Linked DNA regions of Homo sapiens: regions 2, 3 and 4 are each linked to region 1. Evidence: promoter capture Hi-C in 16 types of primary human blood cells and fetal thymus (Javierre and others, 2016). All regions are on one chromosome and are shown on one strand. Each heading gives the region's core, a stretch centred on a gene start or on the middle of the fragment in contact. The rest is flanking DNA. Distances are from core to core; before and after follow the strand shown. Region 1 holds the start of TNC (tenascin C). Region 2 holds the start of ASTN2-AS1 (ASTN2 antisense RNA 1). Region 3 holds the start of ZNF618 (zinc finger protein 618). Region 4 holds the start of AMBP (alpha-1-microglobulin/bikunin precursor).

What was found. Contacts are between HindIII fragments. The CHiCAGO score rates a contact against its expected background, and 5 or more counts as called.
Region 2: a contact is called between the fragment with the promoter of ASTN2-AS1 here and the fragment with the promoter of TNC in region 1, in 4 of 17 cell types (M1 macrophages, activated CD4 T cells, naive CD8 T cells and 1 more). The highest score is 6.8, in M1 macrophages.
Region 3: a contact is called between the fragment with the promoter of ZNF618 here and the fragment with the promoter of TNC in region 1, in 1 of 17 cell types (neutrophils). The highest score is 6.0, in neutrophils.
Region 4: a contact is called between the fragment with the promoter of AMBP here and the fragment with the promoter of TNC in region 1, in 7 of 17 cell types (total CD8 T cells, non-activated CD4 T cells, neutrophils and 4 more). The highest score is 9.5, in total CD8 T cells.

What each region holds. Positions count from the first base shown.
Region 1 is chr9:115,115,343-115,120,389 of GRCh38, forward strand. It overlaps TNC (tenascin C), which reads right to left and starts at 2,815. Exons shown (of 28, transcript NM_002160.4): 1 at 2,640-2,815. The region is part of intron 2 of LOC124902255 (a long non-coding RNA gene); the gene reads left to right. LOC101928748 (a long non-coding RNA gene) reads right to left here. Exons shown (of 6, transcript NR_110950.1): 6 at 4,197-4,366. RefSeq lists an enhancer at 3,094-3,913. The HindIII fragment of the contact is 3,799 bases long and covers 1,298-5,047 here.
Region 2 is chr9:116,502,346-116,507,392 of GRCh38, forward strand. It overlaps ASTN2-AS1 (ASTN2 antisense RNA 1), which reads left to right and starts at 1,938. Exons shown (of 12, transcript NR_033973.1): 1 at 1,938-1,999. The region is part of intron 19 of ASTN2 (astrotactin 2); the gene reads right to left. RefSeq lists an enhancer at 3,138-3,307. The HindIII fragment of the contact is 9,663 bases long and covers 1,252-5,047 here.
Region 3 is chr9:113,874,123-113,879,169 of GRCh38, forward strand. ZNF618 (zinc finger protein 618) reads left to right here and starts at 2,187. Exons shown (of 15, transcript NM_001318042.2): 1 at 2,187-2,291. The coding sequence starts at 2,259. RefSeq lists enhancers at 1-110, 111-611. The HindIII fragment of the contact is 22,796 bases long and covers 1-5,047 here.
Region 4 is chr9:114,075,276-114,080,322 of GRCh38, forward strand. AMBP (alpha-1-microglobulin/bikunin precursor) reads right to left here and starts at 3,025. Exons shown (of 10, transcript NM_001633.4): 1 at 2,818-3,025; 2 at 1,323-1,465. The coding sequence starts at 2,934. LOC107987120 (a long non-coding RNA gene) reads right to left here. Exons shown (of 3, transcript XR_001746905.1): 3 at 4,665-5,047. The HindIII fragment of the contact is 5,279 bases long and covers 1-3,618 here.

The DNA.
Region 1 (5,047 bases), core at 1,565-4,064:
CAGAAGGAACACGGCAGAATGTACCTCTGACTTGGTGATCACGGGGACCTGGGTGTGAAACCTGGCTGTATCACTCTGAGTTCTAGGACCTTGGTAAAGTTATTCAGTCTCCCTGTTCTTGAAGCCATCTCTTTGTCCAACAAATATAGTCCATACCTCAGAGACATGCTGTGGATGATCCCACAAAAGCCTACAGTTTAGAGAGTAGGCTCATCATATATTTTGGCTATCATTGTCATTAGAATTAATTAAAATAGCCTTTGTTAAGTCTTTTATTTCTCATTCATATTCCTGTCTATTACACTATTTGTGGACTTGCTCTTACTTCTGCTACAGATGGTGACTCAGAGGGGCAAAAATCCTTGTTGAAGGGCAGAATGGCAACCAGAATGCACACAGCCTGGTTTCATGATTTGTAAATGTGCTTTTTGTCATTGAAGATTCTGTGGCAATGTCCCAGAGGCTAAGAGCAAAGGTGTAAGTTTTAGACCTTGTGACCCCACTTCAACCAAAGCAGCCCTGCATTTACCTGTCATATACTGGGGGTTTGCCCTAAATTCATGTAATGAATATTTTCATCATTAAAAATAAGTTTAAAAATCATGATCTTAGAATATTAATCTTGGACAAGTCCTTGTAAAATGATAAACAGAGAAACTAAGAAAAGTTTCCATTTATTGAACCCTTAATATGTGGAAGGTACTATGCCAAGTGTTTGCCATATATTACCTCATTTGAATGTTGCAAGAGCCCTGTGAGACATAGTTTGTCATCTCCATTATATGAATGACAAAGTTGAGGGCTGAAACGTTAGTCACTTCTTAGAGTGGGGAAGGAGGAGGTTAGTGTGGGATAAAATAGAGAAGCTAGGTTTTTAAAACAAAGCATAGAGGAAAAAAATATTTAATGACTGTAGAGCTTGGCAACATCCCTTTCAATCCTTGTCCAATTTACCCTGTTTGAGCAAACCAGAGAATACTCATATTGTGCACCTTTTTCTTCCCCACAAAGCAGTCACCTTCCTGAAATGCAAGGGCCAAAGCACGCTGACTTACATCTCCTGCAAATGACTTGTATGCGCACAAAGCCAGAAACTCTTCACTTGGTTGTCTAGGACTGAATAAATCTTCTTCAGTCCTGAATTGGGCTTGCCTGGCTGGGATGGATAGTAGTTTTCCTTTCTAAAACACATATGGGAAAGCTCTGTAAAAATGGGGGAAAAAGTCTACAAAAACATGAAAAAGAGGCATTCATTCTTCAAGTGGTGCTCCCTGTCCTGCCCTCCCTCCGGACAGAAAGCTTTTCCAAAGAGTTTCCAACAGCATCGTACTTCATAGCTGTCAGCTTTAGAATCTGCAGATGCCTAAACTCAAAACCTCCTGACATTCTGGAATCAAAATTTGACATTAACTTCCAGCCCCGGGCTACTACCTTTTCTCCAACCTGTGCCAACACAACCTCCTGCTTGTAAAATACAGCCAAGTCTCAGACCTGCCAGCCTAGTGAGACACCCTCAGATTGGGTGAGATAAAAAGCGGGGGCTGGGGGCGGGCTGAGGAACAACACACAAGAAACAATCCAAGACTGGCTCAATGCCTCTTTTAACTTCCAGAGTGATGGCAGTTTTTGGCAATGACAATGATTATCCAAACTTCCAGTTATTAAGCAGTCATTGCTGATCTTTCTATACCTCATTTTCTCCTCAAAACGACAGCAGACGCTATTGTCCCCATTTTAGAGATGTGAAAACTGAGGATTAAGGAAGTGATGTATCTTTCTCAGGGTCATATGTATGGTGGTGGGGAGAATACCAAACACCTCTGGCTTCAAACCTAAGCTCTTATTCCTCTTACAACACTGATGGGTGAGAAGAACCCCTGTGTTCTTTCCAAAGTACACCAGGGGCAGCAGGGTTCCCATACCTGGGGGATGTTGTTGCTCAGATCTTTCTGTGATGAGAGGTGAGGAGGAGGAGGTGATTCTAGAGACATGTGGGACGCTGCTGGCTCTAGGCACCCCAGTAAAGCTGTTCTCCACCACTCTCTAGCTGCCTGTCAGTTATTCATCTGGCCCAGGAGCCACCTCCTCTCTTCTGTCCCCCAGCTCTCATTTCCAGGGTGAATATTTTGAGGACCAAATGAGGGAATGGGTACAAAACTCTTTGTAAACTTTATGTAAGTGCTGTTTAGATATAAACTTTTATATTCTCCCTGCACTCCTCTATCAAACTCCCTCTAACCCATCCCAGGGGCAGGCTATGAGCAAAGTCTGCCTTAAAACTCTACTGCCCTAACCCTCAAAATAAAAGATATATACAGGTGAATCAGCCAGACTAGAAGTAGGAGAGCAGTTGAAGAGAAAATTTTTACTTTTCCTCTGCAGAACAGCAGAAGATAACAACTTTACGAAAAGTTCCTTCCAAGTCTGACTATTCATAAAGTTAAAACAAACAAAATTACAAGACCAGAAAAGTCAAGGTGCATCTGATATAACCAATACACACTCCTTTTTTTTCCAGCGGTGGAAAAAAAAACCCCATATGTTTTGTAATTATAATATAAAATCACAACTCATTTGGTACCAGGAATGCAATCCTTACATCATAAGGATCTCTAGTGATGAGGGCAAAACAGACTTACCTTTCCGATGGGCGAGAGACCTAGGTCCTTGGAAGAAGTACCTGGAGTGTGGAGCTGCGGCGGTTCCCACGTGCGCGTTCCCCCGAGTTCCCCAGCAGCGCTGCCTTTGTGCCCACGGAGGCGGGGGCGTGTATCTGCGCGCGGGAGAGGCGGGTGACAGTAGGCAGGCTGTGGCCGGTGCAGCCAACTTTGGCTGGCTTATATAGCGAGCTCCTTCCTCTGTAATGGGACGCCTCGCCTCCAGACATCCTTTCCCACTTTTTCAGTTGGCGAATTAAAGGAACAGCCCTCCCAGCGGAACAGGGTTAGCTCATGAAAGACGCACTCACTCCTGGCTCTCGGCCAGGGAAGGAACCCATTTGCATACAATTTATGGCGAAAGTAGGAATTCCCGCCTGCCCGCCCCCGACCCCGAGTAGCTGTTAGTGAAATGTGATTTTTGCTTTGCTCCCCACACGGGTTTTCTAATTGTGAGACGGATGCCTGGGGAGCAAGAGGGAGTAGGATCCGCAGCCCTGGCTCCCCTCTTGTACTTGGTCAAGCTGGAAATGGGACCAGGGCTCGCCTGGGCTCTGGGCAGCAGCTGCTCAGTGGCACCTCGGAGCGAGTACAGGGACTGAGCCCAGTTCCTGGAAAGAGGAGATAAAGCCCTTCAAAAGCCTGGGGGGTTTCAGGTTTCTCTGGGCCAGCGGAGAGATAACCCAGGATTAGGTCTCAGCAGGTGGGGATCGTGCGGGACGCTCACATCAGCCCTGCTTTTCTTGTGTGGGAGCCAGCCTTGCCCAGCTGCTGGGAGGCATCTTTGTTCCAGCCCCAGTGTCCTGCAGGGCAGTAGCTTTTTGACATTGTTCATGCCCTGTGCCTGGTGTGGTCTTCTCAGCTGGGTCTCCAGGGGGAAGGATTTCTGAGGTTTTCTCTTAGTGCTGAAAGGCGTCCCCCACAGCCCTTTCTTTAAAGAAAAGCAATAATTTAAAAAGGTAACAACCTAATCCTTGAGCCATAAGCTGCGCCTTTGCTTTCCAGCCTGCCGTGGATTTCCTCCAAGCTCTGAGTCATCCGTTCGTTTGGTGGTTAGCATGCATTGAGTATCCTCAGGGCATACAGGGGCATTTAAGGGAGTGGAGAAGTAGCACTTCACCCGTGCCTAGAGACTTCTGAGCCTGCCGCAGAGCATAGTAGTTTGTGACAGTGAAGTAAAATGAAGCATTAAATGTAATTCAAAACGCAACTACCATTGAGCCCTCCCTTATTAAGTCTATAATCAGGTGCTGTGCAGGGTACTTTATGAACACTATTTTTGTTCACTATTTTTATTATATCCTTGTAACCAGTAAGTAGGATAGACACAAGTGTCTCTTTTTTACACAAGAAAACTGACGTTTAGAGAAGTAATGAAACTTTACCAAGGGAATACACCTGGGAAGTGTTTATATTACAACACTGGGCTCCAGAGATCTATTACACGTTACTGTTTAGGAATAGGGTATGATGATATTTAAACAATGTTTTATGCTGTATTAGATTGTTAACACCATTTGTGTAGAAATCACAGCCATATTTGAATATGGAAAATATATTTATTTGCTCCATAAAGCTAATTAGGAGAGATCTTTGATTTTTAAAAATTAACTACTAATAATGGAGGTCTCAATTATCCACTTATTTTCAATATTAAATGATATCATCCCCACAGTTATTATTGTTGCTGTGGGCCTCAGTTTCCCCATCTGAAAAAAAAAGCAAGACACGATTAGGTCATCCTACGGTTGCTTTGGCTGTAGTATTTTAGGATTCTCTGCTAAAGTGACCCTCCCAGACAGCAAGAAAGCCCATAAATAGTCATGTCATAAAACCGCTCATTTGAACTTTTGATCCATTTTGGCTGATTCAAATGTTGGTTGTTTGGGAAGTTTTAAATTCTGTGCTTTAGCCAAAGGATATTTCAGTAGCATGAAGCTGTGTCTCAACCAGCAGTGAGTGGTTCCTACTGAGTTAATCTCTTGGGTTAGGGATTAAAATATTAGAATAGTGTACAATATATGTCATATGGTATATAAACTATATTTGTATAGAACATATAATCAATATATTTATAATTCTATGTGAGTTTTTAAATAAGACAAGAGCGCATGCTAGAAAACTAGATAGATATGGCTTTTTCGGGGAATGTCTCAAACTCGAACTCCTCTCCCCAGTTCTTTAGGATTCTACAATCGTTGATTAGTGTCTACCACAAGTGGTATGGTCAATCACAGGGAAACTAAGCCAAATATGACCAGGCTGGCCCTCAAAGCAGGAAAAGGCTAGCAGAGGTGACAAACAAGAATACTATTATGGGTTAAGTTAACAACTATCATATAAGTGTATTCTGATAACATAGAGAAGAGATGATTTATGCATTTTTAGGA
Region 2 (5,047 bases), core at 688-3,187, 1.4 Mb after region 1:
ATAGAGAAAGAGACCAAGAGAGAACTACAGCCAGAAAATACTCAGAAAGACTGAAGCAGAAACTGAGAGCCACAGTGAGAGACAGAGGAGAAATGGAGAGAGAAAGAGAGAGACATAGATAAGAACACATAGGGCCAAAGACAGAGAACCAGAAATAAAAATGCAGAAAAAAGACAATCAGAGAGAAGTGGATAGAAGGTCAGAGACCTAGAAAGACAGATAGAAATAGAGAGACATAGACAGGAGTTGGTGAGGAGAGAGAGAGAGAAACAGAGAAAATCGGGGTCAGAAAGACCAAGACCAAGGCAAACAAGAAAAACAGAAGGAAGAAAGGAAAGAAGGAAGGAAGGAAGGAAGGAAGGAAGGAAGGAAGGAAGGAAGGAAGGAATGAATGAATGAATGAGGGAAGGAAGGAGAGAAGGAAGGAAGGAAGATGGAAGGAAAGAAAAAAGGAAGGAGGTAGAAAAGAAGAAGAGAATGAAGGAGGGAGGGAGAGAGGGAAGGAAGGAAGATGAAAGGAAAGAAAAAAGAGAGGAAGGAAAGAAGAAGGGAAGGAAGGAGGAAAGGAGGGAGGGAGGGAAGAAAGATGGAAGGAAAGAAAAAAAGGAAGGAGGAAGAAAAGAAGGGAAGGAAGGAGAGAGGGAGGGAGAGAGGGAAGGAAGGAAGATGAAAGGAAAGAAAAAAGGAGGAAGGAAAGAAGAAGGGAAGGAAGAAAGGAAGGAAGGAAGGAGGGAGGAAGGGAAGGAAGATGGAAGAAAAGAAAAAAGGAAGGAGAAAGGAAAGAAGGGAAGGAAGTAAGGAAAGAAGAAAGGAGAAAGGAAGGAAGAAGGAAGAAGGAGGGAGGAAGGAAGGAAGGAAGGGCACGGCAGGACCAGCTAGAAGGGCATCTTCTGGAGATGGATGCCCTTGAGTGACCAGGGAAGCTTTACTTCTGGTCTCACCGCTACTCGGGGCAGATGATCTGGGAGGAGGAGGGGGGGAGAGTGAGAGGGTGACTGGCATTTCCATTCAGCTCCCCTCATCTATCCCTCCCACCCACATATAGAGGTTTTCACTCTATTAAAATGACTCCCTTGCTTCCTCATTTATGTTAAAATTTTCCTTGAAATAAAGAAAAGGAAACAAGGTCACCCTTCAATCCACAATGAAAACTATAAAAGCGTTTTTAGGCTTGGAAAATTTAGCTGGTCAGTTTTTCCTACTGTTTAATAACTGCCTTGGGTTACACTGAATGAGTAAACATGTTTTACAAGCTTCTAATTCATACCTAACCCTATGAGTTCACAGCTTTACATAATATATACACACACATATACTATATATACACACATGCACACATACATACTGCAATGTAAAATATAAACACACATACATACTTAATATATATATGAGTGTGTTCGTGTGGTGTAAGTAATCTTTCCAATTTGTGCAGCTCATTAGGGCTTACAAAGCACGCTCTTTCCTCATTTAATCCTCACGATAATCCTGTGAGGTAGGCAGTTTAGGATTATCATCCCCAGTTTACAGGTACCTGTGGTTAAGGTAGAGAGACCAAGAACCCACAGGTCTCTAAGGCATCACAGTCCATATCACAGTTCTGCTCTCCATAGTCCCAAAGCTGACTTCATGAACTTGGGTAGTGCAGTGCCCACTTCTGGACCTGCAAGGACCCAAAACCATGGGGATCCTGAGGCATCATCTGTTTCAGGGCTTCATTGTACAGACAGGAAAACTAAAGCTCAGACTATTACTGCTAGCCTATAGGGTGCCTCTGTGCAAATTGGAAAAACAATAGAAAAATAAAAATCATCTCTTTCTTAAGATACTTCCCTCCCTTGTTCCAATATTCTGATTTGTTAGAACAAGACACTTGATCAATGATTAATACATGTTTATGATGTCTACAATTGGAATGGTGAGCTTTGGAATGTGGTAGCATTGTGAGCAGCAAAACCTGTGCGACTGCATCTGACATCGCCAGGATGGGGGCCCAACCAAGGTGAGGGCAAAGAGGACGGTAAGGGAGAAAGAAAGAAAGAAGGGAAGGTAAGATGGGAGAGACAGCACCTACTTTCTGAGGTCTAAGAAGAAAACCCATTTTACTTAAAGGACATTGAGATAATAATAATAACTAGTGTTTATTAAGCTCTTAATCTTTTCTGATACTTACAGTAACCCTGTGAGAGTGTTTCATATTGCTAACTACTGCTTGTATTTCTATCTTACACTCTCAAGTAATAATAATATTATTCAGAATAACAGTGACAATTGATATAACTTAAGCATTCACAATGTTAGATACTATGCCTAGTATTTCATGTACTGCATCTCATTTCAGCTTAATAACAATATGCCAGCCTGGGCGACATAGTAAGACCTCATCTCTACAAAAGTACAAAAATTAACTGGGTGTTGTATCGTGCATCTGTAGCTCCAGCTACTCAGGAAGCTGAGGTGGGAGGATCACTTGAGCCTGGGAAGTCAAGGCTGCAGTGAGCCAAGATAGTACCACTGCCCTCTAGCCTGGATGACCAAGTGAAATCCTGTCTCAAAAAAAAAAAAAAAAAAACCCAAAACAACAACAACAAAAAACACAAGTTAGCTTATTTCCCCAAATTTACAAATGAGTATATCAAGATTCAGAGAGATCCACTAACTTGCCTAAGGTCACTTGGTTAAATTGCGCAACTGAGATTTGACTATTATGAGGGAAGAGTAAAGGTCAGACACACTTTCACATCCTCTAAAAGTGACTGAAATGCTTTACATTCTCAATAATTACTAACTATGCTAGCACATCAGAGAACCCTACTTTGCATATGGGGCATCAATATCTCTGACTTCTCATCTCGTGTGCTTTTAGTATCTGATAGTCTACTCATTCCTTTAATCGCTTTGAGGCTACTGATGAATGGAACCATCTAGATCATGAATCCAGGGAGTCTCTGCTCTGTGGAAACAATGTTGGTTCCCGCTCAGCTTTTCCCTGGTGCCCAGCTCGCCTCCCTGTTTCCACCTCTCCCTTACTGGATACCCAATCAATGCAAATGGATCTGAGTAGTCATTAGAATTTATTTTTTAAGAAAAGCAAGGCAAAACCAAACCAAAACCAGAAGTCTGCCACAATATGCAAAGAACCACCTTTGGATTCCAATAAAACTGGGCTTCCTACCTTTAGCATCCTCTTGTGTAAGACAGGAATAAGAAGTATTACCATTTTAATAGAATGTTTCAAGGATTCAATGTGTAAAATATCTGACCCAGTGCTTCTCCTTAATGTATAAAATGTATTCCAAAACAAGAAGTGGCGATGGGTCGGGGGCACTCATGTTGCACTAGAACTTTACAGTGTACCTGGTATTTTCATATCCATCAACTCCTAGGCAATCCAAAGCCTCACTACTGCTCCAGCTAGAGCGCCTTCCCTCTCCCTTTGCTGACTACACTTCAATGACTGTGCCCTCCTTGGTGCTCCTGAGGATGCTCCAGGGGCTTTGCTATTGCTACATCCTCAGTCTGGAGCAGTCTACATTCAGCTAGCCACATGGTTCACTTCCTCCCACTTTCCGGTCTCTGCTCAAACATCACACCCTCAAAGAGGTTTGTCCTGATCACTGTAACTAAATGGTATGCCCCCAACCTCTATCCTCATACCCTATTTTTCTTTCAAACACATAGTACACTTTGACTCTGTATTGCACATCTATTACTTTACCATCATTGCCTCCCAACCCTCTGTACCGGGAACATAAGCTCCATGATAGGAGCTTGTTCAGTGCCTTCTCCTCAGCTTCTGGAATAGTGTTCGGTATGTAGTAGGTGTTCAATAAGTGGTTACTGAATGACTTAACTCATAGTTGTTCATGAAACTCTGAGAGGCTGGCAAGGCTGGCATTCTGATGCACACTTTACATGTGAATAAACTGAGGCCCAAGGAGGTGAAGAAAATTTTCTAAAGTCCTTCAGCTGGTGGATAACAGGAGTGGGACTAGCAAACTGAGCTGCCAGACTCAAATCCAAAGCTCTTTGTATTTCACCAACTTGTATTTCCTATTATTGCTCCCCTTCACCTCCAAGCATGCCCTGGGAAATGGGTGTTATTTGGGATTTTACCTCTTAGGCGGGAAGCCCCAGAGATGGAGGAGTAAGAAGGAGTGACTTCACATGTTCTCCACCCAGACATAGGCCTTGCTAGAGTCCCATGAACAAACTAGAGCTCTGGCCCTCATCTGGGAGCAGGCAGACCAGCCACTAGCAGCCAAAAGGAGGAAGGGATTGATAAATAGAGAGAATGTGGGAGGAGGGCAGGAAGGGGATTGCTGTAGCCATCTCCAACCCCCCAAAAAGTCAGGCAGGAGAAGTCCAATTACCCTTTCAGAGTAATTTCCGCTCTATAAAGTGATGACTTACTTCACCGCCCAGAGGTTTCCATTTGCCAACTGGGGATAGACAAGTCCTGCAGGGGAGGGAGCGACTTACTGACTCTTCAGCTCCCTGGAGGGGAAAGGAACCTGGGCTTGGACGTGGGCTGTGCTCTGACTTGCTTTTTTACTTTGTGACTCACCTGCCCTCTCTGGACCTCAGTTCACTCATCTATTTAAAGAATTCTGAGGCCTAGAAAAACTCTGGGGATTGGTTTAAGGAAGATGGCATAGAAAAAGGCATGTGTCACAGCATGGGCCAAGTGTTGGGTTCCTTGCTATAAGTCAGGCACTGTGCTTGGTGCTCTACATACATAATCGCTTTAACATTCACAGAGATACTGTGAAGCTGGCATTGTGATGCTCATTTTGAAGATGAAGAAATGGAGACGCAACATCAGTGAGCGTCTCCAAACTTACACCAATAGTGAGCAACAGTTTTGAGATTAGGACCCAGAGATATCCAAGCTCTCCATAGTTTGTCTCCCTGAAATGCAGAGTTGAAATATTGTCACCTGACATCCTCAGAGTCAGAGCTGAGGACTTTAAAGACCAATTAAGTGAATCTCCTGTTTTCCAGATGGAGAAACAGGCACAGAAGGGAAAGTGACTTGTCTGAAGACACA
Region 3 (5,047 bases), core at 937-3,436, 1.2 Mb before region 1:
GCACATATGCTCAGGGCTCACAGGACCCAACTCTGCCATGCTCTGCAAGCTGCCCCTACTCACCTTGGTGCCTGCTGCACACCAGCCTGGGCAGAGGCTGCCAAACCTCTGGCAGGGACATACTTACCAGGTTGGTGGGGAGAAAAATGGCCACTTTCAATTTCAATTTTTAAGGAATCTCCAACTTTTAGGGGTCTGGGAGGAAGTGGTTAGAAGACTCCTCTTTTTTTTTTTTTTTTGAGACGGAGTCCCACTCTGTCACCCAGGCTGGAGTGCAATGGCGTGGTCTCGGCTCACTGCAACCTCCGCCTCCCGGGTTCAAGCAATTCTCCTGCCTCAGCCTCCTGAGTACCTGGGACTACTGGCTGGTGTGTGCCACCACACCTGGCTAATTTTTGTATATTTAGTGGAGAAGGGGTTCACTATGTTGGCCAGGCTGGTCTCCAATTCCTGACCTCGTGATCTACCCGCCTTGGCCTCCCAAAAGGATTATTTGCGTGAGCCACCACTCCCGGCCAGAAGACTCCTTTTAACGTCTTGTGTTATGAGTGTTTGTTAAGGGGGGCAAGAGTTGTGTTTCTTAATTTCATGTCTCCCATATAGGGCTAAACTCCCAATTTAACTTATTAGGGAAAGGAGGTGTCTTCTACACAGTGCCTCCGTTTCCTAAAATTTTAAAAATAACTTTTTTGAGGATTGTAGGGAAAACATTTCTGTAACCTTTCCTGTCTCATATTGCTCCAGTTCTTTAAACATTACAAAAAAGAACATTTGATTTTTGAAGGTGGGGGCAGAGAGAAGATACCTGGTTACTCTTAATTTCCAATGCTTTTATTTTTGAAAAGTACCCTTGCAGTTTTCTTTTGGGGAGGGGCAAAGAAGGATTTCTGTTCACCTTGCATCTCATAGAAGAGCAATTCTTAACATTTTTATTCCAAAAATCAACCAGTTGTGGGAGATGTAGGATGGATCCAGTAATCCCTCCTTGTCTCTATAATAGGGCAGGTCCTTCATACTTTCAATTTTTAAAAAATCGGATTTTTTAGGAGAATAGGGAAGAGAATAGAAAAAAAAATCCCTTTTAAACTTTCCCAAGTCACAAGGAGGCAGTTGCTCAAGTTAAAAAAAAAAAAACAACAATAACAACAACAAAAAAACTGGCTATTTTGGGGTGTTGGAAAGAAATATCCTGGTTCACGTTTTATTTCACATGCAAGTTTCTCAAATTTTCCTTCTCTAAATCAACCTAACTGGGGGATATGGGGGTGGGGGGCGCTAATATCCCTTAACCTTTAACCCCTCTTGTCTTACTGTAGGACCAGTTTTTCAAACTTTTATTTAGAAATACATATATATATTTTAATTTGGCAAGGATAGGCAGAAACAGCCGCTTCACTGGCATTTCACATAAAAGCGGCTCCTCAAGTATTTATTTTAAAAATCAGTCTGGCTGGGGGGCTAGAGTCCCCTTAACCACTCTTGTCGGACATGGGGCCAGTCCTTCAAACTTTTATTTTATTACATTAGTTTTTTTGGGAGGAGTGGCAGGGCAATAGAATATTCCCAATAAGCCTTCCAGTCTTCCAGCAAGCCAGCTCTTGAAAACTTTTATTTCAAAAATCAATCTGGTTTTTTTTTGGCGGGGGGGTACAGCGGGGTACAGAGTTCCCATTAACCTCTTGCGTTCCGCCGAGAGCCGGCTCCCTGAACTTTTTTTCCAGCGTGAAAATGACATTTCCGAGGGGCTGGGGGACTGGGGGAGGGCAGAAGGGAGCCGGGGAGCGGGCGCGGGGGGCGCGGGGAGGGCAGGGCGCGGCGCGGGAAAGTTTGGGGGGGCGGGTGTGCCGCGGCACTGGGGCTGGCGGACGGGAGGGCGGGCGCGCCCCTGGACCGGCCGGCTTTGTGTGCCACGCGGAGGCCGGCAGCGCGGAGGCCGAGGCCGAGGCCCCGAGCTCGCGGGCCGCACGGCGAGGCCGGCCCGGGGGCGGGCAGGGCGGCGGGGGGCGGCGGCGGCCCCGCGAGGGGCGGCTCGGCGGCAGCGGCTGCCGCGGCGCGGCCGGTGCGGGCCGGGGGTGGGGGCGAGGGCCGGCGCCCCCCCCGCGCGCCCCCAGCGCCCCCGCCCCCCCGGCCTGAGCGGGGCGGGCGGAGGAGGGAGCGGCGGCGGCGGCGGCGGCGGCGGCGGCGGCATTGTGCGCGCACCAGCAGCCCGGCCCGGGAGGAGCAGGACGCGCCGGGGCCGCCTCCTCCCGCACGGACCCATGAACCAGCCGGGCGGCGCGGCGGCTCCGCAGGTACGACGGGGGGCCGGGGGCATGCACCGCGCGGGGGACCCCGGGGGGCCGGGGCCCGGGGCGCTGCGCCACTTCATTGCAAGATTTGCAAAATGCAAAGTGCCTGGGCACGTTTGCGGGCTTTTTGTGGGCGCAATCGGGAGGGTCGGGGTCCGGAGAGCACCCCCCCGGGCGCTGCGGGGTGCGAGGAGGGTGGGGGTGACGAGGGGGTCTTTTGGGGCCCCCACCCAGCGCCCCCTCCGGCCCCGGGCTCGGACCGGAGCCCAGAAAACAAAGCGGCGAGAGAACAGAGCAGCCATTTCAGTTTGGACAATTCACATTTTGCAAAAATGCAACCCCTTCCAGCTCTGCCCCCTCCCCCCCAAATTTGCAATTTTCCCCTGACCCTCTCTGCGCTCGGGGTCCCCGATGACCCCCCGGGAGGTCTTTCCCCCCAGGTCCCCCATTTTTGCAACAATCTTTTTTTTTAGGCCATATTTTCCTTTCTCAATTTTTTTTTTCTAATTTTTCTTCAAACGGTAGTTTTTTCCCATTAAAACGACGCCACCTAGAGGATACTATTTTGTAAATAAAAAAGAAATTAAAATTGAAAAGAAATATTTTTTATTTCTTATTTTTTCAAAAGTTTGCACTACCAGGCAGTGGAGGGGTAAGAGATTCTTTTTTTTTCTTTTTTCGGGTGAAAATTTTCACTTTGATCTTTCCAGAAGCATGGAGACAATTTTTATTTCTGAAGCCAAATCCAGATAATATGTAAATGAAAATTAAGCTGGAATTTGAATGAATTTAGTTCTTGGAGGGGAGAAAGCAAAAAACCTCCTAAAAGCAAAGTCAGTTTGGGTACCCAACTCATTTTAGTTTGAGAAAAAAACTAATTGGAATAAAGAAAGGAGGGAAATTGTTGAGTTTAGGGAAAACTGAGAGAATTGGCTTTATGAAGCAATTAGAAATTGTACTTCATTGTAATTTGGAACTTGTTTAGCTCAGCGGGCAAAAAAAGACTAATTTCTCTATATGGCAATATTTAAAGTTTTTCTATTTCCACGAACGAAGGATTTAAAAGAGAAAATAGAACCTAAAATGTTGGCTTTGGACACACCCAAAAATTGTAGTTTTTTTTTTTTAATTTTGCATTTACATTTTACTGCATTTAAATCCTAAGATTCTAAAGAAAACAGAAACTAGAAAAGTTACAGTGAAATCCTTTCTTTCTTTTTTTCTGTATTTGTTGGGTTTTGTGTGTGTGTGTGTTTTTTTTGTTTTGATGGAATAATTAAGACTGTTTTCTGATTTTGTTTCCTGAAAGGTCTAGGCATTTCTTTTTTGTTGTTGTTTTATCCAGAAAATGTCAGGAACCTTTTTTGAGCAATATTAAGTGGAAAAAATGTAAATTCATACATTATACAAATTGAGTAGCCCACAGATTTGTAGGAGAGACCGCCATTAAAATAAGATATGCATAATTAACATTATTATGAAAAAACTAACAGTGGATTCACAGAAGCTCATTTTTTATGACATGCAACTGAATCAATTGATGAAGACAAGGATTGAGGAATCCTTGGTAAGGAAGAAAATTTTCCCTTTTCTGTCTTGTTCACCCTTCCAATTTGAAAAATTTATTACTTAAAAAAAATTTAGATTGGTTTCAGGCCTCTTTGATTGTGATGTGGGGTTGGTAGTTTATCAATATTTGTTATTTTTCAAAAACCTGATTACTTTCAAAGGGGGAAAAATCCATTAGCCTTGATCATTTTGGGGGGTTTGTGACCAAAAAAAAAAAATGCACAAATTTTACTGACTTAACAAGAAAAAGATAAAAGAGGGATGGGCAAAAAGGAGATGAAAATTCTGATTCTTATCCATCTTCCTTGGTAGAACACTTACTTTGCTGAAGAAATGTGATATAACACCAACTCAGCTGGTTTTAGCAGCAACAAAATAAAGGAAAAATAATCAAAATACAAACAAAAGCCAAACCCAAGGTTTGCCTTTGGAATATGAAAGCATATATGCAAACAATATTTCATGTGGAGGTTTTGGCCTTAAAATGAATCACATGAAGGTGAAACAAAAAAGAAAAAAAAATTTAAGAAGGCAAATAAATATTGACCGAATTGAAATTTGACAGATGAGAATAAAGTACCCACCCAAAGATGAAGCGTTTTGTGATAAATTAGTATCTAATTGAACTTGCTGGGGATTTTGAGCCTATCCCCCAAAAGTTACAATTTTTCTGTCCAAAAACAGCATATTGTTAGGACTTGCAGGGCGGGATCTTGGAGGGACCTTGGATTGGAAATTGATGGTGGGTCACCTGGGGCAAGAAAGGAAACCCTTTGCTCCTTTTGCCAGCCACTAGCTGGTCTTGGGAAAACTGGTGGCCCCAGTCCATAGATTCCCAACCCTGTTTTGTGGAAATTTGGATGTTTAAGTGGAATAAGTCAAATATATTATCTCTGTGAAATATATTTGACAATGGCAGAGGTTTGACATTTCCCATCATCGCCATTGCATTTGGGAGATTTTATTTTTTTAGTAACGAAATCCTTCAGGGCTGACTGGTCACATTCTGACATATTTGGAATGAGCTTTTTTTTTTTTAAGTAGCATAATTAAAAAAATTTTTTTCTGTTGAATTATTTAGGCCGATGAGTAGGACGGTCAAGGAATTTATAATTTCCAAGGGGCTTTGGAGGCCTCATGAGGCAGAAGGCCTGAGTTTAGCAGTGATGAAGGAGAGATGGGCTGGGGAG
Region 4 (5,047 bases), core at 1,775-4,274, 1.0 Mb before region 1:
ATGCCATCCTCCTGGCAAAGCCAGCACTAATGCCGCCTTCCTTAATCAAATCTACACATTATACTGAGGCAGGAGGAGCTGGAGTGATGAATTCCTACAGTCATCCATGTATTGTTCTGTGTCTCTCTTGCCCCAGTTTTCTCATTTATAAAATGGGGATCATGATAGTTTCTACCTCACATGGTTAGTGTGAGGGTCAACTGACACATATGTAAAGAACTTGGAGGAAGCACTATATACGAATTAGCTATTATTGTTACAATGAGCACTATTTATCCAATGGATATTTATTGGGCAGCACCTATGTGGCAAGCCCTGTGCTACATGGCAGGGATACATGAGAGAGCAAGACAGACCCCATTCCCTGGGGTTCCTGGAGCTTGCAATTGCGTGGGTCAGGCAGGCAGGTGAGAGGCAGATGCAATCAGTGTGAGAAGTACCACATGGGGGTAAGTGTGAGGTCCTCTTCGGGCACAAAGAAGGGCATGTAACCTGAACCTGGGTGTCTGGGAGGGCTTCCTGGAGGAGGTGACATGAAACCTGAGTTCTGAAGAATCCACAGGAACTAATTAGCCCAGGGAAATGAGGAGAGGTGCTCCCAGTAAAAGGGACATCAGGTGCAAGGACCTGGAGGCGTGAGAGTTCCAGAACTGAAAGCAGGTTCACGTGAGTAGGACTCAGAGTACATAGCAGAGTGTGTGGCAGGAGTTCTGGGTGCTGGGAGGGTCCTGGAAAGCCACATCAAGAGTTTGAATCTTACTCCCAGGGCATTGGGGAGTCATGGAAGGGTCTCGAGCAGATGTGAGTTTTCAAAAGGTCTTTCTGGTTACTGGGTGAAGAGGGGATGGGGTGGAAGGGTGGAGGTCAGAGGTGAGGAAAGAGTAGAGAGGTTGTGGCAGACAACCAGGAAAGAAAGGGAGGTGGCTTGGACCAGGATGGTGGCAGTGGAGAGGGGAGAAGTGAACAGGTTGGGGGGGATTTAGGAGGAGAATGGGCAGGACTTGATGATGGGTGACAGGGGAGAGAGGAGCCCAGTTCCCAGGTTGGGTCCCTGGGGGGCTGAAGTACCCACACTGGGCTAAGGAATGCCCAAGGGGGAGGAGCAGTTTGCAGAACAGGCACAGTGCTGGGACACTGCCCTCGAGGAATAGATAGGACACCTGAAAAGGGCCGTCCTGGTGGAGGAGCGTAGAGGGATCTGGGGTTCAGCGGGAAGGTCCTGACTGGAAGCAGAGATCTGCAACTTCCCAGGATGGACGGGGCTGGGAAGGTTGTGGGTCTCTGGGTCTCTCTCAGCTTTCCAGCCCCACCCTAGTGCTCACCGCCAACGAGTGCTGGTCATGCTGATCTCCGCCTCTGTAGCGCCCTCTCCCAGCACCAGCGTGCTCACTGTCATCCTGTCCATGATCTTCTTCAGCCAGGGGCAGGTGGAACCGATGGCCAGGTTGTACCACTTCCCATAGATCTAGGAGGCAGGTGAGCTCTGGGGGTCTGCATCAGTCTCAGACCTCAAAGCAGACCTGGCTGACATCTGCTCCCCACCCTCCACCTCCTCCTCTTCCTCCTCCTTCTCCTCAAAATGACTTATCCTTTTAAGGGATAATGTCTTACAACTAATCAGAGGCCACACACCTTCAAGGGAGGCCAGATCCCTAAGAGTGGCGTTTCAGGCATCACAGCGAACCCAGGAAGCAGGTGTGCGGCTGGGGTCCCAACCTGCCCTGCAGAAGGGCTAACTCTCTCAAGATGTGGGATCTGTCCATAGCTCCATCAACCACTGCTCCCCAAGAGCTGGAGTCCTGTCTTTTACTCCTCCAATGATGGGGTGCTCCCCACCTTGCAAGGCAGCCCACAGCCCCATGTTAGGAATTATTTCAAAAGTATAATGAACATGATGGGGTCATTCAGGATAGGCCTGCTTCCTCTTCCTCCTGAAAGTGCACGGGACAGCTGAAGGAGCCCTCAGGCTCCTACGGAACAGGCCAATGTGCCCCACACCCTTTGCGTCCCAGACTGCCACAGGGACCTGCTCCTCATTGCCCCTCTGCCACGACCTTTCCTTGTCCCTAAAAGTAAACAAAACCCACATGACACCACAGCTAGAAGGTTCTGAGACCCTTCATACAGACATGGAGACAGCCCCAGGTGGGCAAGGGTATTCTCAAAGCCACCCCGGGATTTAGGGCAGAGTGGGGGCTGGAAGGCAGCTCTGGCACTCCACACTCACAGGAGAGTGTCCTGCCCCAGTCCAGGTCTCTCCTTGTGCCCAAGCCTCTGAATGTCTCCCAACCCTAATCTCTGTCCTGCTTCACCTCTTCCCATAAGCCCCACATGCCCAACCCAAAAGCTGCTGGCCACATGCCCACGCTGTGCCACCCCAGGTGTCTGTCCACAGTCAGGCCAGGATGTGGGCAGGGGACACAGGAAGAGCTAAGGGAAAGATGCCACAGAGAGAGGGGAGTCATTAGAGAAGGAAGGGCTGGGAGGTCTGGGCAAAGCTAGGTGTCTGCACGGGGGCTGCAGGGCAGTGGCAGGCAGGACAAAGCCTTCTCTGGAGCAGGTTCCCATTAACACAAGGGTTCCCCTTGGAGCCCACGAGGACAGTGCAGAAGGTGAGGATGTTTGACTCATAGAATGTCAGCCAAGAGACCCACGGAATGGCAGGGGATAGAGCTGTACCTTCAAAGGATCCCATAATCCCAGATGATCTGAGTGGAAGCCTGAGACCCCGAGACAGGCCGCACTTGCCCAGCAGGGCCCATCTGCCTGGACTCCCCATCACCACATCCACCCTACCACAGAGAGCGGCAGCCTTACCCGAGAGATATTGAAGTTTTCCTGCACTTGGATGTTGTCGGGCGGCGTTGGCACAGGGCCAGCGCTCACCGCCAGGCAGGCGCTCAGCAGCAAGAGCAGGGCCCCGAGGCTCCTCATGGCTATGGGCTCCTCTGCCTTGGTATATCCCACAGGCTCGGTCTAGCAACAGAAGGGCCACCGCCTCCCTGCAACAGGGCAGCTGTGAACTGAGGCTGGGGAAGGGGCCTGTGGCTTGTAGTTGACCTCAGTGTTTGCCCTGCTCAGCTGGGGCCAATTACAGCCCCAAGGACAGCTCCAATCGATCCCTGTAGCCTGGCTGGGGTCAGCAGTACCAAGAGGCCGGGATGGCTGCTTCAGAAGAGGCATTGGCCAAGCACAATAGGGCCCTGGAGCACCAGGATTGGGCTCCGCCCCCCAAAAGTCCCCCACAGAGGGCATGCGAGGATGGGGAGCGACCTGGCCTTTCTGCTGAGTCATGCCATCTGGACCTCACAGCTCTGTGAGCCAGCAGGTCAAGCCTGATTGGGCCCATTTCTCACAGGAAAAAACTGAGGCCCAAGGAGAGGAAGTGACTTGCCAGAGACCTCAGGGAAGTCTATGGGCAGAGCCAAGACCAGAACCCAGGTATCCTGTCTCCAGAGTTCCTTCTCCAGCCCCCAGGCTTGCCCTAGCCTTTGCAAATAATAGAGACATTAACAATGATGACTGTTACGAGCTTCCGTTCACTGAGCACCTGCTATGTGCTGGCTGTGTACCAGGCACTTTACACGTGCCACAGGTGTCCAGTAAATCCCCACAACAAGCTTACGAAGTAGGTGCTATTTGTCCCCTTTACAGGCAGAGGAGTTGAGTCTCCAAGAAGTGAAGTGACTTGCCCAGAATCCCTCAGCCGGGAGTGGAGTAGCTGGGAAAGGCGTGGTAGAGACCATGGACGTGGGAGCCAGGCAGCCTACAGTGGCACTCACTGCTGTGTGACCTTGGGCAAGTCACTTTACCTTTCAGTGCCTTGGTTTCCTCATCTGTAAATGGGGATAATAATAGTTCCTAGCTCCTAGCATTGTTGAGTGAGCACCTGCAATGCGCTAGGACAGTACCCAGCATAGAGTAAGAGCTGAGTGTTTGTGGTGGGTTGAACAGTGCCCCCTCCAGAATCCATGTGCACCCCGAACCGCAGAATGAACCTGATTTGCAGATGTGATTAGTTAGATGAGGTTGAACTGGATGACAGGGGTTTTAAATCCAATGACCGGTATCTTTATAAGAGAATGGTGAGGGAGACTCAGACACAGGGACACAGAGAGAAGCACGGGGAAGATGTGGCGTGACGCCGAAGGCAGAGATGGGAGGGATGCAGTGACACGTCAAAAATCACCAAGGATTGATGGCAGCCACCAAAAGCTAGCAAAAGGCAAGGAAGGACTTTTCCCCAGAATCTTCAAAGGGAACATGGCTCTGCTGAAAATTTGGTCTCAGGTGTCTGACCTCCAGTGCTGAGAGAAGACACATTTCCTAGCAGCCCTAGGAAACTAATACAGTAGTTATTAAACTTAAGGTTTTATTTATTTATTTATTATTTTGAGACGGAGTTTCACTCTTGTCGCCCAGGCTGGAGTGCAGTGGTGCGATCTCGGCTCACTGCAACCTCCACATTCTGGGCTGAAGTGATTCTTGTGCCTCAGCCTCCCGAGTAGCTGAGATTACAGGTGCCCACCACCATGCCTGGCTAATTTTTGTATTTTTAGTAGAGACAGCGTTTCACCATATTGGCCAGACTGGTCTCTAACTCCTGACCTCAGGTGATCCTCTCACCTCAGCCTCCCAAAGTGCTGGGATTACAGGCGTAAGCCACTGCGCTCAGCCTAAATTTAAGATTTTAAATGAGAATTTTTTAAAACCCAGGTCCGTTGTCTGTGAGCTCACACTCTTGCCAGCAATACCAAAGGCCTCTCTATGAATTTCCCTTCTCCAGTGGTTAAATCTACTGTCCTTACTTCCTCCCTGCTCTTGGCATGGAACATTCCATACTCTCAGCCACCTCTCTGTTAGAGCTGGGAATGACCCCTTCGGGCAGGCAGTCCCAAGATTAAGACCCCTGCTTATGTGAGAATCAAAGGATTCCCCCATGTAGTCAGTGCAGAAACAAATGGTGTATCATGTCCCTTCTGTAAGATTCAGTCAGTACATCCCTCTTTCACTGGTATCCAGAACAAGTGTGCTTCTATTCATAAAT